Linked DNA regions of Homo sapiens: region 2 is linked to region 1. The links are contacts of gene promoters, found by promoter capture Hi-C in blood cells and fetal thymus (Javierre and others, 2016). All regions are on one chromosome and are shown on one strand. Each heading gives the region's core, a stretch centred on a gene start or on the middle of the fragment in contact. The rest is flanking DNA. Distances are from core to core; before and after follow the strand shown.

Region 1 (6,709 bases), core at 1,421-3,920:
TTTACATGGTTTTTAACTAAACTTTTTAGTTTAAAACAACTGTAGATTCACATGCAGTTGTGAGAAATAATACAGATCCTGTGTACACTTTCTTCCGATGACAACACCTTGCAAAACTGTAATACTGCAACCAGGATGTTGATATTTATAAACAATCGACTGATCTTTTTCAGATTTTCCCAGTTTTACTTGTACTCGTGCGCGCGTGCATGCGTGTGTGTGTGTGTGTGCGTTGTTTTTGTTTTTGAGACAGGGTCTTGCTCTGTCGCCCAGGTTAGTGGGCAGTAGCAGTGGCAGGATCATGGCTCACTGCAGCCTCCAACTCCCAGGCTCAAGTGATCTTCTCACCTCAGCCTCTCACCTACCTGGGCCCACAAGTGTGAGCCACCATGCCTGACTCATATATATATATATATTTTTGTAGAGACCGGGTCTTCCTATGTTGCCCGGCTGGTCTCCAACTCCTCGGCTCAAGTGATCCTCCTGTCTGGGGTTTCCAAATTGTTGGGATTACAGGTGTGAGTCAGAGCACCCAGCCAAGTTCTATACAATTTTATCATGTTTAGTTTGTGTTCTCACCACCACAGGCAAGATACAAAATGGTTCCTCATCACTCTCCTGTTGCATTTTAAATAACACAATTTACCGTGTTCAATACCATGTATTTCTCCAGGTGAGGTATACATGTGACAGGCTCCAAAAGGCTTTTAAACACCACAGTAGTGCTGCCCAAGAAAATTCAAGGGCCACGAATGAAAGTTGCCTATGAAATTAGACATTTCTCAGGAGCCAAAGGTAAAAGAGACCAATTTAAATAATATATTTCAGAAAACCGAATATATCCAAATATCCTCATTTCAACATGTAATCAATATAAAAAGTATGAATGATATGCTACTTTTCTCGTACGAAGTCTTTGCAATCCAGTGAGCCCAGTCCTCTGGCAGCTGTTAGCATGGACTGAGTACCTCCTATGTGTCTGACTCTGATCCAGGCACTGAGACACAGATCAGCTCCTGCCCTTTAAGAACACAGGCCAATGGAGGACAAGCACAGTTCTACAACATGAGACAGGCCACGGTAGAAGCAAGCAAAGGAGGCCTGGGAACACCTGGCTAGTAGGGAAGGCTCTGTGGGGGCTTGGCCTCAAAGCCCAGGGACAGCAGGGGGACCAGTCAGAAGGAGCCCCAAGTGTCTGGGTGGGAGCGATGGTGTTCCCTGAGATGGGAACCAAGAGGAGAGGCACTTTGGAGGGAAGGCCCAGTGTGGTTTGGGGATATCCAATAAAAGATGGCCCCTCCTCAAAGTTAGTGGATGCTAGGCTCTGGGATGCAGGGGAGGGTTCTGGGCTTGCTATTGAGGTTTCCCTGGAGGTTGATGTCACTGGGGGCATGGAGATTACTCAGGCCAGAAGGTGTGTGGGAAGCATGGGGTGTGGGGTACAGAGTACACCACATGGAGAGCCAACATCAGGGGGATTCCCAAGGGAGAAAGACAAGCCAGGGATCATCCAAGGAGGCAAGACGGGAGGAGTGCAGGGATCTGTGGACCCACCCAGCCCCTTCTGTTCTGAGGTTACAATGGGTGATGGCTCTGTGGGGCTGCAATGAGTGGCGGCACGCGCGGAGGGCCAGGGGAGGAGGGACATGCTGTGGGCTCCGGGTTCAGGTCCCAGGACTGAATTGGAAGCACCCTGTCTGTGTTGAAGTTCAAGATCTACCACTTCTGTTCCCAGACCTCCCAGTTCTTCCTCACCTTTATGCAATTTCATTTTTGATAATTTCAGCTTCCTAAATGTACACATCTGACTTCACTTTCACTCACATGTCTCACCCCCACCCCTCCACCGGCCCCTTCTATTACAGACCCAGGAGACACAGGAAGTGCAAGGAAGGTCTGGAGCCCCAAAAGCCAGGAGCCTCAGGAGTCAGGTGTCCTGACAGCCAGGAACCCTGACACCCAGGAGCCCTGGCACCCAGGAACCCCAACAGCCAGAAGCCTCTACCACCAGGAGCCCTGACAGCAAGGAACCCCGACACCCAGGAGCCCCTACTACAGCCAGGAAGCCAGGAACCCTAACACCAGGAGCCCTGACACCCAGTCACCCCGACAGCCAGGAAGCCAACAGCAAGAAGCCTCTACCACCAGGAGCCCTGACAGCAAGGAACCCCGACACCCAGGAGCCCCTGCTATAGCCAGGAACCCTAACACCCAGGAGCCCCTACAGTCAGGAACCCCGACACCCAGGGGTCCCGACAGCCAGGAACCCCGACACCCAGGGGTCCCGACAGCCAGGGGCCATTACGGCCAGGAGCCCCGACAGCCAGGGACCTCGACGGCCAGAATCCACTACATCCAGAAGCCCTTATAACCGGGAACCTCCATAGCCAGGAGCCCCTACAGCCAGGAGCCCCTTCAGCCAGGGAGCCCCGAAAGCCAGGAGCCCCGACAGCCAGGAACCATAACAGCCATGAACCCCGGGAGCCAGGAGGCCCGCAGCGGAGTGCCCAGACTTGGCAGGGTCAGAGCCCCCCAGCGGGATCCAGAGCCCGCCGCCGAGGCCCCTTTTGGGATTTCTCAGGCTCGGCAGCCTCAGCGCAGGCAGGGGCGGGGCTTTCCCTCGCGCAGCCGCTCAGCTCCCCGTGGCCCCGCCCACATCCGGCCGCCGGCACTGGATTGCTTCTGTCTGGCGGCGGCAGCATGGCGGCGGGGGCGGCTGAGGCAGCTGTAGCGGCCGTGGAGGAGGTCGGCTCAGCCGGGCAGTTTGAGGAGCTGCTGCGCCTCAAAGCCAAGTAAGCGGGGCGGCGAGCGGTAGGAGTGAGGAGCCGGAGCGGGAGCGGCCGCGAGACCGGGCCGGTGTGGGGCGGCGGGTGGCCCAGCCTGGCTTCTTGGTGCCCGGCTCCCTTCGGCCTCGGGGGACCGGGCCCGGCGCCACCCGTAGACTCCCCCGAGCCTCCGCGTGAGTGGCCCGAGCCGCAGGTTCCCCGCCCCGGAACAGCGAGCAGGGCGCGAGGCTCGCCTGGAAGCCCCGGCCCCAGCCCTGGCTCCGACCCCGACGGCTGTCCAAGCCCGGGGGACGCGACCTTCCCGGCCTCTGGCCTGGGCGGCCCCGCCGCGGGACGGAGGCGGTGGTGACTCAGCCGTGCCGCAGTGGCGGGGCGGGGGACGGGGCGGCGCCGAGACCCCGGCCCTCCGCGCCACGGAGCGGGACCCACGGCTGCGGGCTCCACCTTTCCTGTGCCCGCCGGGAGGGAGCGGCAGGCTCGGCGTCGGCCCATTGCTCTTCAGCCTCCCTTCAGGAACGCCCCTGTCGCAGGAAGAGCGGCGAGGGAAGGCCCCGTTGCATTAGCTAGGCCTGGCTGCCTTTTGAAGTCAGCCTTTAAAGTTTGTTGGACAGCAGGTAGCCTCAGTCTTCAGACTTAACCTGTTGCCGGAGACAGAGATTTCCTGTTCCATGAACTGGTGTAGTGAGAGTCTGTTCAGATTTGGCGCCGGTGTCCAGGTCTTCAATCCCTGGGAAGACTACAAAAGGAGATCCAGAGGAATGCATAGAAAGCGTTTTCTGGGTGGACTAGAAGCTCTGAACTGCAAGCATGCTTACGAGTAAATGCTTACTAGCGTGCGTGCCTGCAGGGAAAGGTCTGCACGTGGACTCTCCGTGATAATACCACCTCACATTGTAGACTACTCCAAGGACTGAGTTGTTCTCTTAGTTGTATTATTAGCGGTTGTTATGGGAACTCTTATGTCGGATTGCCTGGGATCCAGTCCCACCGCAGCCACTCAGTAGCCATGTAACCCCTGGGCACGTTTCATGCCCAAGCCTCAGTTTCCCGACGGTGACATAGATTAGCACCTGTTAGTACCTCAGGGTTGTTGTGAGGGTTAAATGAGATGACGTATGTAAAATACAAATAATACAATGCCTAGTATGCAGGAAGCACTCAGTAGATGTTGGCACTTAGTATTTCAGTAGGAAGTAGAATGGTTCATGGAATTCACAGGCAAAAAGCTTTGTTTTGTTTTGTTTTTGAGACAGGGTCTGGCTCTGTCACCCAGGCTGCAGTGTAGTGGAGCGATCACGGCTCCCTGCAGCCTCCGCCTCCCAGGCTCAAGTGATCGACCCACCTCATCCTCCCGAGTAGCTGGGACCACAGGTGCTCACCACCACGCCCGTCTAATTTTTATTTTTTTTTATAGAGACGAGGTCTCGCCATGTTGCCCAGCCTCGTCTCGACCTTCTGGACTCGAGCGATCTGCCCTCCTCAGCCTCCCAAAGGGTTGGGATTACAGGTGTGAGCTACCACGTCCGGCCAGAAATGCTTATTGATCTAAATTTTGTTTTGTTTGTTTTCGAGACAGGCTGTTGCTCTGTTGCCCAGGCTGAGTGCAGTGGCGTGATCTCGGCTCACTGCAGCCTCTACCTCCTGGGTTCAAGCGATCCTCCCACCTCAGCCTCCTGAGTATCTGGGACTACACGTGCGGTCCACCACGCTGGGCTAATTTGTGTATTTTTCGTAGAGGCAGGGTTTCCTCATGTTGCCCAGGCTGGTCTCTGGAACTCCTGAGCTCAAGTGATTCGCCTGCCTCGGCCTTGTAAAGTATCGGGATTACAGGCTTGAGCCCCCGTGACCTGCCCTGTTGATCTAAATTGAGTGAAATTTTGCCGACTGAATTTGAATTAGAGGCAAGTAGTACTCTGATTTTGCAATGGAGAGTGCAGGTGAGATGGGGTGTTGCCTTTGGAAATGGGGAGGGGTGCGAGTTACTGACTAATGGTTAGAAATGCTTTATGGGGGTGATGAAATTAAAGTGTTATTTAAACAGCTCTTTAGGCATTTCAGGTTTACCTGGGAAATTGTTACGGAAAAAAGCAGGGGTTGGGGAGGGACATGTGACATTTACTCACTGATGGAAGCTGGGCTCTGACTCATCCAGTACAGATCAGCACAATCACAGGAGTCACCAGAAGTGGCCTCTTGAAATGAGCAGGTCTTGTGTGGACCTGCCCTAAGTAAACGTTTTGAATTTACCATCACCTGAAAGGCTGTTTTGTCTGTTTTACATGTTTGTTTTAAATGCTTCATGTTTTAAAAAGTCCTTAAACTATCAAAATGAATAAAAGTGTTTTTTTTTTTTTTTTTTTTTGGGGGGGAGACAGAGTCTCTCTCTGTTGCCCAGGCTGGAGTAGAGTGCAGTGACACAATCTTGGCTCACTGCAACCTCTGCCTCACGGGTTCAAATGATTCTCCTGCCTCAGCCTTCTGAGTAGCTGGGATTACAGGTGCCCGCCACCACGCCTGGCTAATTTTTGCATTTTTAGTAGAGATGGGTTTCACCATGTTGGCCAGGCTGGTCTTGAACTCCTGACCTTAGGTGATGGGCCCGCTTCCCAGCGTGCTGGGATTACAGGCATGAGCCACTGCGCCCGGCCAAAATGGATAAAAGTTTAAATGTAAGTACCATTTGGATGTTGTATCCTTGCCGCTGGCCTGTACTTGAAATGGCCCAGGAAACAATGTGCACTTTCCTTAGTGACTAGTTCAAACGGACACGTGATAAATGATGTGTGGCATCTGGGGAAGGAGCACATTTCTGCAGCTTTTTTGGTGAAGATGGAGACATTTAAGAATATTAGGCCGGGCGCGGTGGCTCACGCCTGTAATCCCAGCACTTTGGGAGGCCGAGGTGGGTGGATCACGAGGTCAGGAGATCGAGACCATCCTGGCTAACACGGTGAAACCCCGTCTTTACTAAAGAAAATACAAAAAATTAGCCAGGCATGGTGGCAGGTGCCTGTAGTCCCAGTTACTCGGGAAGCTGAGGCAGGCGAATGGCATGAACCTGGGAGGCGGAGCTTGCAGTGAGCCAAGATCGTGGCACTGCACTCCAGCCTGGACGACAGACGAAGACTCCATCTCAAAAAAAAAAAAACCAAAAAAAGAATATCATGGTGGCTTACACCAGCAAACCCAGCACTTTGGGAGGATGGCTTGAGGCCAGGAGTTTGAGAGTAGCTTGAACAACATAGAACCCATCTCTACAAAAAATAAAAAAAGTAGCCAGGCATGGTGATGCATGCCTGTAGTCCCCAGCTACTCAGGAGGCTGAGGTGGGAGGATTGTTTGAGCCCAGGAGTTCCAAGCTGCGGTGAGCTATGATCCTGCCACTGTACTCCAGCCTGGGTGACAGAGTGAGACCCTGTCTCAAAAAACAAAAAGTGCCCGAATTTTAGTACTTGTGTTGATGTAATAATTTTAAATCTACTTTCCAAATCATCGCTTCTCCAATTTTAAAATTTGACATGAATTGAAATTTTTTTCTTTTAAGTAGTTGAATCAGATATTTACATAAGTTGCTGAAATCTCAGCTGGTTTGTACAATGGGGTTATTAATATCCATTTGCAGAGTAAGCAGGTTTAGTATATGATATGTTTAATAAGCAGTAGCTGGTATCTGCAGATGAATGTAGTAGCAGAATACTATAATAATTGAAAAACAACTATTTGCTGATGAAGAGCTGAAGTTTATTACATTGTCTAAAGTTACATTAGTCAGGATTTGAATGTGGTTTTTGTCTGATGGTTTTTCTCCAACAATGCTCCAGGCATATGGGGCTATCCATTAAGATGGAAAGAATACTGTAACATGTAATCCAAAAGGGGATAACGTTTATATTTGTTTCAGATATAGTATGTCCTTATAATAT
Region 2 (6,709 bases), core at 1,444-3,943, 1.9 Mb before region 1:
AGAGATGCGACTGGCGGGTCCTGGTGGTCATTTTGGATCAAGCCTGGCAGCCTGTTGGTTGGTGAGCATTGCAGGCAGGGACAAACCTATTGCAGGGGCTTTTGTAGGGATTTGTAGGGATTTCTCCTATGTTTTGTTTTCTATGAAACAAACAGTTGATTAAGAAAACAAACAGTTGATTAAGAAGACAATGCATTCCCTCACCCCTTCATCCTTTGTCTCATTAACTTGGATCTATTTATGTCATGTTAACCAAACTCTGAGCTGGCTTAAAGTGGGATTGTATCACCCAGCCAAGTCGTAAGTGCAAGAGGGGGTCTTCCAGAGGGCCATTGCATTGAGAAAGAAACACTCACTCATGTCAAGATTTATTTGTTAGAAAACCCCTCTGGCCAGGTGCAGTGGCTCACTCCTATAATCTCAGCACTTTGGCCAGCTGGGGCTGGAGGATCACTTGAGGTCTGGAGCTCGAGACCAGCCTGGGCAACACAGTGAGACCTCATCTCTACAAAAAATACAAAAATTAGCCAGGCATGATGGTGCACACCTATGGTCCCAGCTACATGGGAGGCTGAGATAGGAAGATTGCTGGAGTCCAGGAGGTAGAGGCTGCAATGAGCCATGATTCCGCCACTGCATTATCCAGCCTGGGCCATAGGGCAAGACCTTGTCTCAAAAACAATCACAACAATAACAAACAACAACAAATGCTTCTGATACTGTACCATGGCAAACTACCTGGTTTTAGTTAGAAATCTATCTCTGAGATGAGTCGCTGCACCCAGGCCTCACTTGCTCTTGGTCTGGGGCGGGCTGTGCAGTTCTGGGATCTGCTCTGGTGATGAGCCTAAGGTGAACCTCAGAGTCAAAATCATGCCTTATGTCTGTCAGACACTTTGAACTGTTTCAAAGCCTCTCCAGGCCTATTATTTCATTTGATCTTCATAACATCCCCCAGACAGGGAGCCCCAGATAGGTTAATTGGCCTGCCTGGGGTCGCAGGTGGGAGCTGGGACTAGAACTGGAGTCTCTCCGGTCTTCCTCTACCCTCACGTCTGGAAGGACTGTGTCATGCCATGTGCTTTGGGGACTCACTGAGACACTTTCTGGTCTTTCTGGCCCCACTGCCACTGCAGCTGGTGTCAGGGAGAGACAGAAAGAAGGTGTGATGGGAATCAGCCCCCACAGCTCTGAGGGAGCTCCAAGGTGAGGGCCCATGGTGGACCCATCAATTCCAGAGGGCCACCTCCAGCTCCCAGCCTTGGCAGGCTTCTGCAGAGCAAATTGCAAGGGCTCCTCGGGCTCGTTCTAGAACCCAGACTGTGCTGTGAAGTCCGTTTCCAGCTGGACTGCCCAGGACCCCTCTCCTCCTCTGTCCCTCTTCTTCTTCTCCTACTGCTGGTGGCTCCCTTCCTTTCCTGAGCATAAACTGCTTTTCCTCCTGGAAATGTTGCAATTTTCCCTTCCTTGTGTTTTTGCTTGAGTGCAGGAGGGTTTGTGTTCAAGGTCTGGGGCTATTGAGGCTGGTGGGAAGTGAGCAAGTTTGAGAAAAGCCGGTGAGGGCAGGAGCCAGCAGCACTGGACCTGGCTGCAGGCAGCATTCCAGTGGGAAAAGTTAGAAAGCGTGAGTGCAAAAATAAAATATGAATATGCGAAATGTTAAAAAAGGGAGAAATTCCCAGGGCCACATTTGCCTAGTATCACACTAATACAGTGAGACAAGTAGGCTGATGGTTCCAAGCCTTCAGAAATGAGCTCTCAACGTTCAGTAGAGCCGAGATCCAGAGAATGATCCCGGCTGTGGGAAGATGGGCTACAGACTGCACCTTCAAGCTCTCCTTCCTGCTGAAATAGGAGCGTGCACGCAGCCACTTCAAAATTCAGACTGTGCATGCAGCAAGGCTGGAAAGGGAAAACGGCTCAAGGACCCGCCACTTGGGGGCAGCAGTTTTGAATATTTCGAATTGCAAGCCACTCTGTGGCTGAGACACCAGCATGCAAAACTTGCATACTAACAATGACAAACAATGTCTCAAATTGTAAACAGCTTAGGGAAGAAATCTTATTTTAATATTAGTCCAAAATTTCCATTTATATTCATATTCAAATTTATCTCCAGAAAATAATCCATATAGTTAAGACTCGAACGAAAGTAATTGATACAGAATAGGAATCACAGTCAGGGTGAAATAACCCTCAGAAAATCACAGTATGTGGCCGATTTTCTGAGTGGATAAAGCTGGGCTTACAGTTTATGCTGGGAGTATTTGAGCTAAATTAAGTCATGAAAGAAGATAATACAATGTACCATCATTTTAAAGTAATTTAATCATGAAAACTAAAAATTTGGAAGAAAACAGATATTTTACTTAATAGAAACCATCTGTACTGTACAGTAGGCAAATTGTATAAAAATGAATAAAACTGTCTCTGGAGGAGAGTGGCTCAGACACCGGCTTATATAATGAAGATGTATATGTGCCTTTTAGCATTTGCATTGTCTATTAGATGAGGTAAATCGCAGGGAGTATAAGGGAAACAGTTACAAATTTTATTACCATCATATGACTGATGACAAAGTGGCAATAGAAATAATGCATAAGAGATGGGGTCTGTTCCCAAGTCCAGTGGCTCTCCACCTTGGACCAGTCTTAATGGCCGAATCTCTATTGAGCGAGGGTCACTAGGATGTTTTTGTCTAGTTACTATGGCTTTAGTGGCTCCTACCCACAAGGACCATCTTTTAACTTGTTTAGGCTCCGAGTGTGCCATTTGATTTGATTTGGCCCCACCAGGGAGGCACCTAATTTAAACACTTCTGGAGTGGCTTTTGCACTGGACTTTTGGCTGGAAAGATGCAGGCAGATGATCTGTAAAATGTCCCCTTTTTCCTGTTGACCTGCATCAAAATGCATTTTTCTGACAGAATACTTTTGTCCCTGGTAAGAGGGGCTGGCTCGTCCCTCTCTGTGTCTGAAGGTCGAGTGCCACATTTTTCAAAACAGACACTTGTTCCTAATCTACAAATTAACTAAATAATCACAACTGCTAATTATACAGTATCAGGCCTGGAATACATAGGGCTTGAGTAATAATCAACTTTTTAAATTAAGTTGGTGACAACCACTATTAGCTGCTGTGATTTAATAATCCCAATAAATGTGCACATTTTAAAAAGGGGCTCTTTGTAATTTTTTTCCCCAGCATTTGCAACTGAATCTGTTAATGAAAAGAGAACACAACAGTTTTATGTTACAAACGATGCCATAATAGGTAAATAAAAGGGCTCCTCTAGACGCTATTAATGATGGATGTGCCGCGAATATGAATTGGAGATGCGAGGCAGAGCGAAATTTGAAATCAAGTTTCTATTTCTGTTTGTTATGATGAATTAAGGCCAGAAAGAGAATCTGATTCCTTTTGTATATTAAGCATTTTTGGGCAATAAGAAACAGATCCCATTAACAAATATGTAAAATAAAAATACCTCCCTTAAGATTTAGACGTTGGCAAATTTAGAACAAAAGAGATGCAATTTTCCACCTCGTATGCTCGCGCTGTTTTACCTAATATTATTATAATGCATTGGCTCCAGCAGCGGACCTGCGCGGCCGGGGAAAAGGGGCGCGCGCCTTGGCGACTGGGGGCGCATCGTGGGGACTCGGCCTCTTTTTCCCATCTTCTGGAGGAACCGCCGACCATAGCAGAGGGGAGCGCGTGGGAAGTCGCCCCGCGGGGCAGCCGCACATCTCAGAGACCTGCGGGGGGCGCGGGGTAGAGGGGAGAGATTGATCCGGGTTGGGGGGGCGGGGGGCCCACGAACGGTGGGGCGCGGGGTCGCTGGCATCTAGGACCGGGGGTCCTGGGAGGCTCCGCCAGGGGGCTGGTGAGGACCCTCACTCTGTGGGGGCCGGCCCTCCTTCTACCTCTTTCACCCTTTTCTCTCTGCCGCTGATTGCACCACTTTTCTTTTCTTTTCTTTTTTTTTTTTTTAGTGGTCAATTGAAATTTTATGGCTAAGTTATTTAAAAGAGACTATAGAAGAACGAAATGAGGGAAGGATGATGGAAACACCGCCTTTCTTTTACAATAATTACTCTTGATAGCAATTTGAACTAATTTGCATTAAAAAAACACCCATTTAACCAATCTGCTGCAAATGGGGACTTACTGTATACTGTTTTGTTAGACCTCAGGACTCCATTGTAGCATTTAAATTATGGAAGGACTACAGGACCCCATGAATACCCACGTCTGCTTCAGCCCAGGTTGGGCTTGTTTTCAATACCTGAGCAATGATATGATATGGAATTTCATGACAAAATGGGCTCATTTCTCATAATTGTACCTTTTATGTGTACTTTATAAGACAGGAGATGAGGGCAGAGACTGGAGCCAGGATTCCTGGCTATTCTCTTCTCAGCATGACCTTAGACAAAAATCCCTTCATATCCCTGGGTTCTCATGGAAGCAAGAAAGTTAGGAATCAAATACAAGGCCTTTGCCCTCCAAGACCTTAGAAATAGATGTGCATATGCGAGTGGATATTATTATTATTTAGGCTTTTGATAAACAATGATAAACTTCGTGGGGGTACGGCCTTTCCATCTATTGCCTGTAACTGATCAATATGCCCTTATTCCACCCCCAAAACTTTGGGGTGAGCTGGGGTGTGGATGGTTTTGTGTGTCAGTAAAGTGACCACAGCCAGCCGGATGGAGACAGCTGCCCTCTCCCTCTCTCTCTCTGCAGTATTTGGTTTCCCTGTACCATAACTGATGTTTTCCTTACATTTTTATTTCAAAAGAGAGATGAAGATCCTCATCTGGTTACAAAACCATTTGGACCCTCAGTCCTTCTCCTTTGGTTTCTTCTTTTCTGCTTTTTTTTTTTTTCCTACTTGAAAACATTGTAATCTAGAATTCAGAGAGGAAAAAAGTTGAAATTCAAAGCAGGCATTTTTTTTTTTTTTTTTGTCTGAGACGGAGTCTCACTCTGTCGCCCAGGCTGGAATGCAGTGGCACGAACTCGGCTCACTGCAAGCTCTGCTTCCTGGGTTCATGCCATTCTCCTGCCTCAGCCTCCCAAGTAGCTGGGACTACAGGCGCCCACCACCACGCCAGGCTAATTTTTTGTATGTTTAGTAGAGACGGGATTTCACCGTGTTAGCCATGATGGTTTCAATCTCCTGACCTCGTGATCCGCCCACCTCGGCCTCCCAAAGTGCTGGGATTACAGACGTGAGCCACCGCGCCCGGCCCAAAGCAGGCATTTTTGTGAGCCTAGCAGCGAGGTCTGGAGGCTTGGTGTGCTGGAGGGTGAAAGCAGCGTCAGGAGGTCACCGGGGTGGAATCTGATGACCCCCCAAGTTTCTCATTTTACCGATAGGGAAACTGAGGCTCTGAGGGGACCCGTTCACCCAAACAAGCCAGGTGGAGACTTGGGGTACTTTTCAGTGTTTTCCTTTATCTGTGTCAGTCCCCAGAGGGACCACATTTTCTGTACCCACAGAACATTCTGAATGAAAGCCAAGTGCAGACGATGTTTTCATTTCCCTCGTTTTGTTCTTTCCCCTTCTCTTCCCTTTCTTTCTTTTCCTCCCTCTTTCCTTTCTTTCCTCCCTCCCTTCCTCCTCCTTCCTTTCCTCTCTCCTTCCTTCTCTTCCTTCTTTCTCTCATTCACTCACTGCCTCTTGTTTTCTTTACCACAGTGCAGACCTTCTGGAGTCCAAGGTGGGGGGTTGGGGGTGGGGTCGGTGGTGGGGAGCAAGGAACAGGCCACCCCTGCTGCAGACCCGCCGGGTGGACACAAAGCAAAGCCACCCAGGAGGGGGTGGTGGGGACAGTCTTGCATGCCCCACCTCAAGCCGGAGAACATTCTGGCTGCAGGGGACCCTGCAGAGGCCACGAAGCCTCACTGAGTGAGAGAAAGAAAGAAGGAAAGAAAGGAGGGAAGGCAGCTCCCTCTGCTCAGCCGCTGGGAAACTGGTGTCCCGCGGTTGCTCCTGTCATGCACAAGATGGCGCTCTTAAGCTTTAAAAAGAGTCGGGGGCTCAGTGCAGTGAATGCGCCGCTCCACCCCGAGGGTTCCTCCTGGAGAGGCTGCAGAGCAGGCGGGAAGAGGCAGGAAAGTGAGGGCCTTCTTTCCTGGTGCCCTCAGCGTGATGGAGGGAGTCCAGCCTTGCTCTCCCCCTGGGCAATCAGGACTCCCAGAGACCCCGCTGCCCTTCTGAGCTGCTGCTTTCCAACTTAGGAATTGCCCGTGGGGTCCTCACGGAGTCCCCCGTGCAGCTGGACTCTCGAGCTTTGTTTCCTGAACAGGGAAGAAGGAAGCAGGTGGGGCACAGAGCGGCTCTGACCTGCCAGACACCACCGGACCGCTCAGGCAAAGGGGCTGCGTCCTGCTGTGCGGCCCCGGTCTGAGGGAGGGTCCTGCATTTGCTTACCTGATGCTGGTTCAGAGCTGTGCTAGCGAAGGGGAGGGCATAGAGAGGCCTCTGGGAGTCTGGAAAGATCCCTGGTCCTCTCCAGTGGGCTAGGACACTGAGCACATCTGCGCCCTTTCCTTGGAGGCCTTACCAGGACCAAATGCAGGCAGGAGAGAGTGGCCTCTTGCATGTGGTCACCCCAGACATGATTAGCCACCTGTCTGCCTGTGAACCTCTGAGGGAGGGGACCCGCCAGGGCCAGAGCCAGGTGCGCTGGAAAGC

What was found. The method cuts DNA at HindIII sites, captures the fragments that hold promoters and counts their contacts. A CHiCAGO score of 5 or more calls a contact.
Region 2: a contact is called between a fragment that was not itself captured here and the fragment with the promoter of GLRX3 in region 1, in 1 of 17 cell types (naive B cells). The highest score is 7.4, in naive B cells.

The regions. Positions count from the first base shown.
Region 1 is chr10:130,133,721-130,140,429 of GRCh38, forward strand. GLRX3 (glutaredoxin 3) reads left to right here and starts at 2,671. Exons shown (of 11, transcript NM_006541.5): 1 at 2,671-2,792. The coding sequence starts at 2,701. LOC105378561 (a long non-coding RNA gene) reads right to left here and starts at 2,651. Exons shown (of 6, transcript XR_001747659.2): 1 at 1-2,651. RefSeq lists a silencer at 2,653-3,252 and enhancers at 3,453-3,502, 3,781-4,416, 4,417-5,051. The HindIII fragment of the contact is 5,217 bases long and covers 1-4,010 here.
Region 2 is chr10:128,262,159-128,268,867 of GRCh38, forward strand. No RefSeq gene overlaps it. Among named protein-coding and RNA genes, the nearest start is that of LINC01163, 20 kb to the right of the region's middle. The HindIII fragment of the contact is 6,673 bases long and covers 1-6,030 here.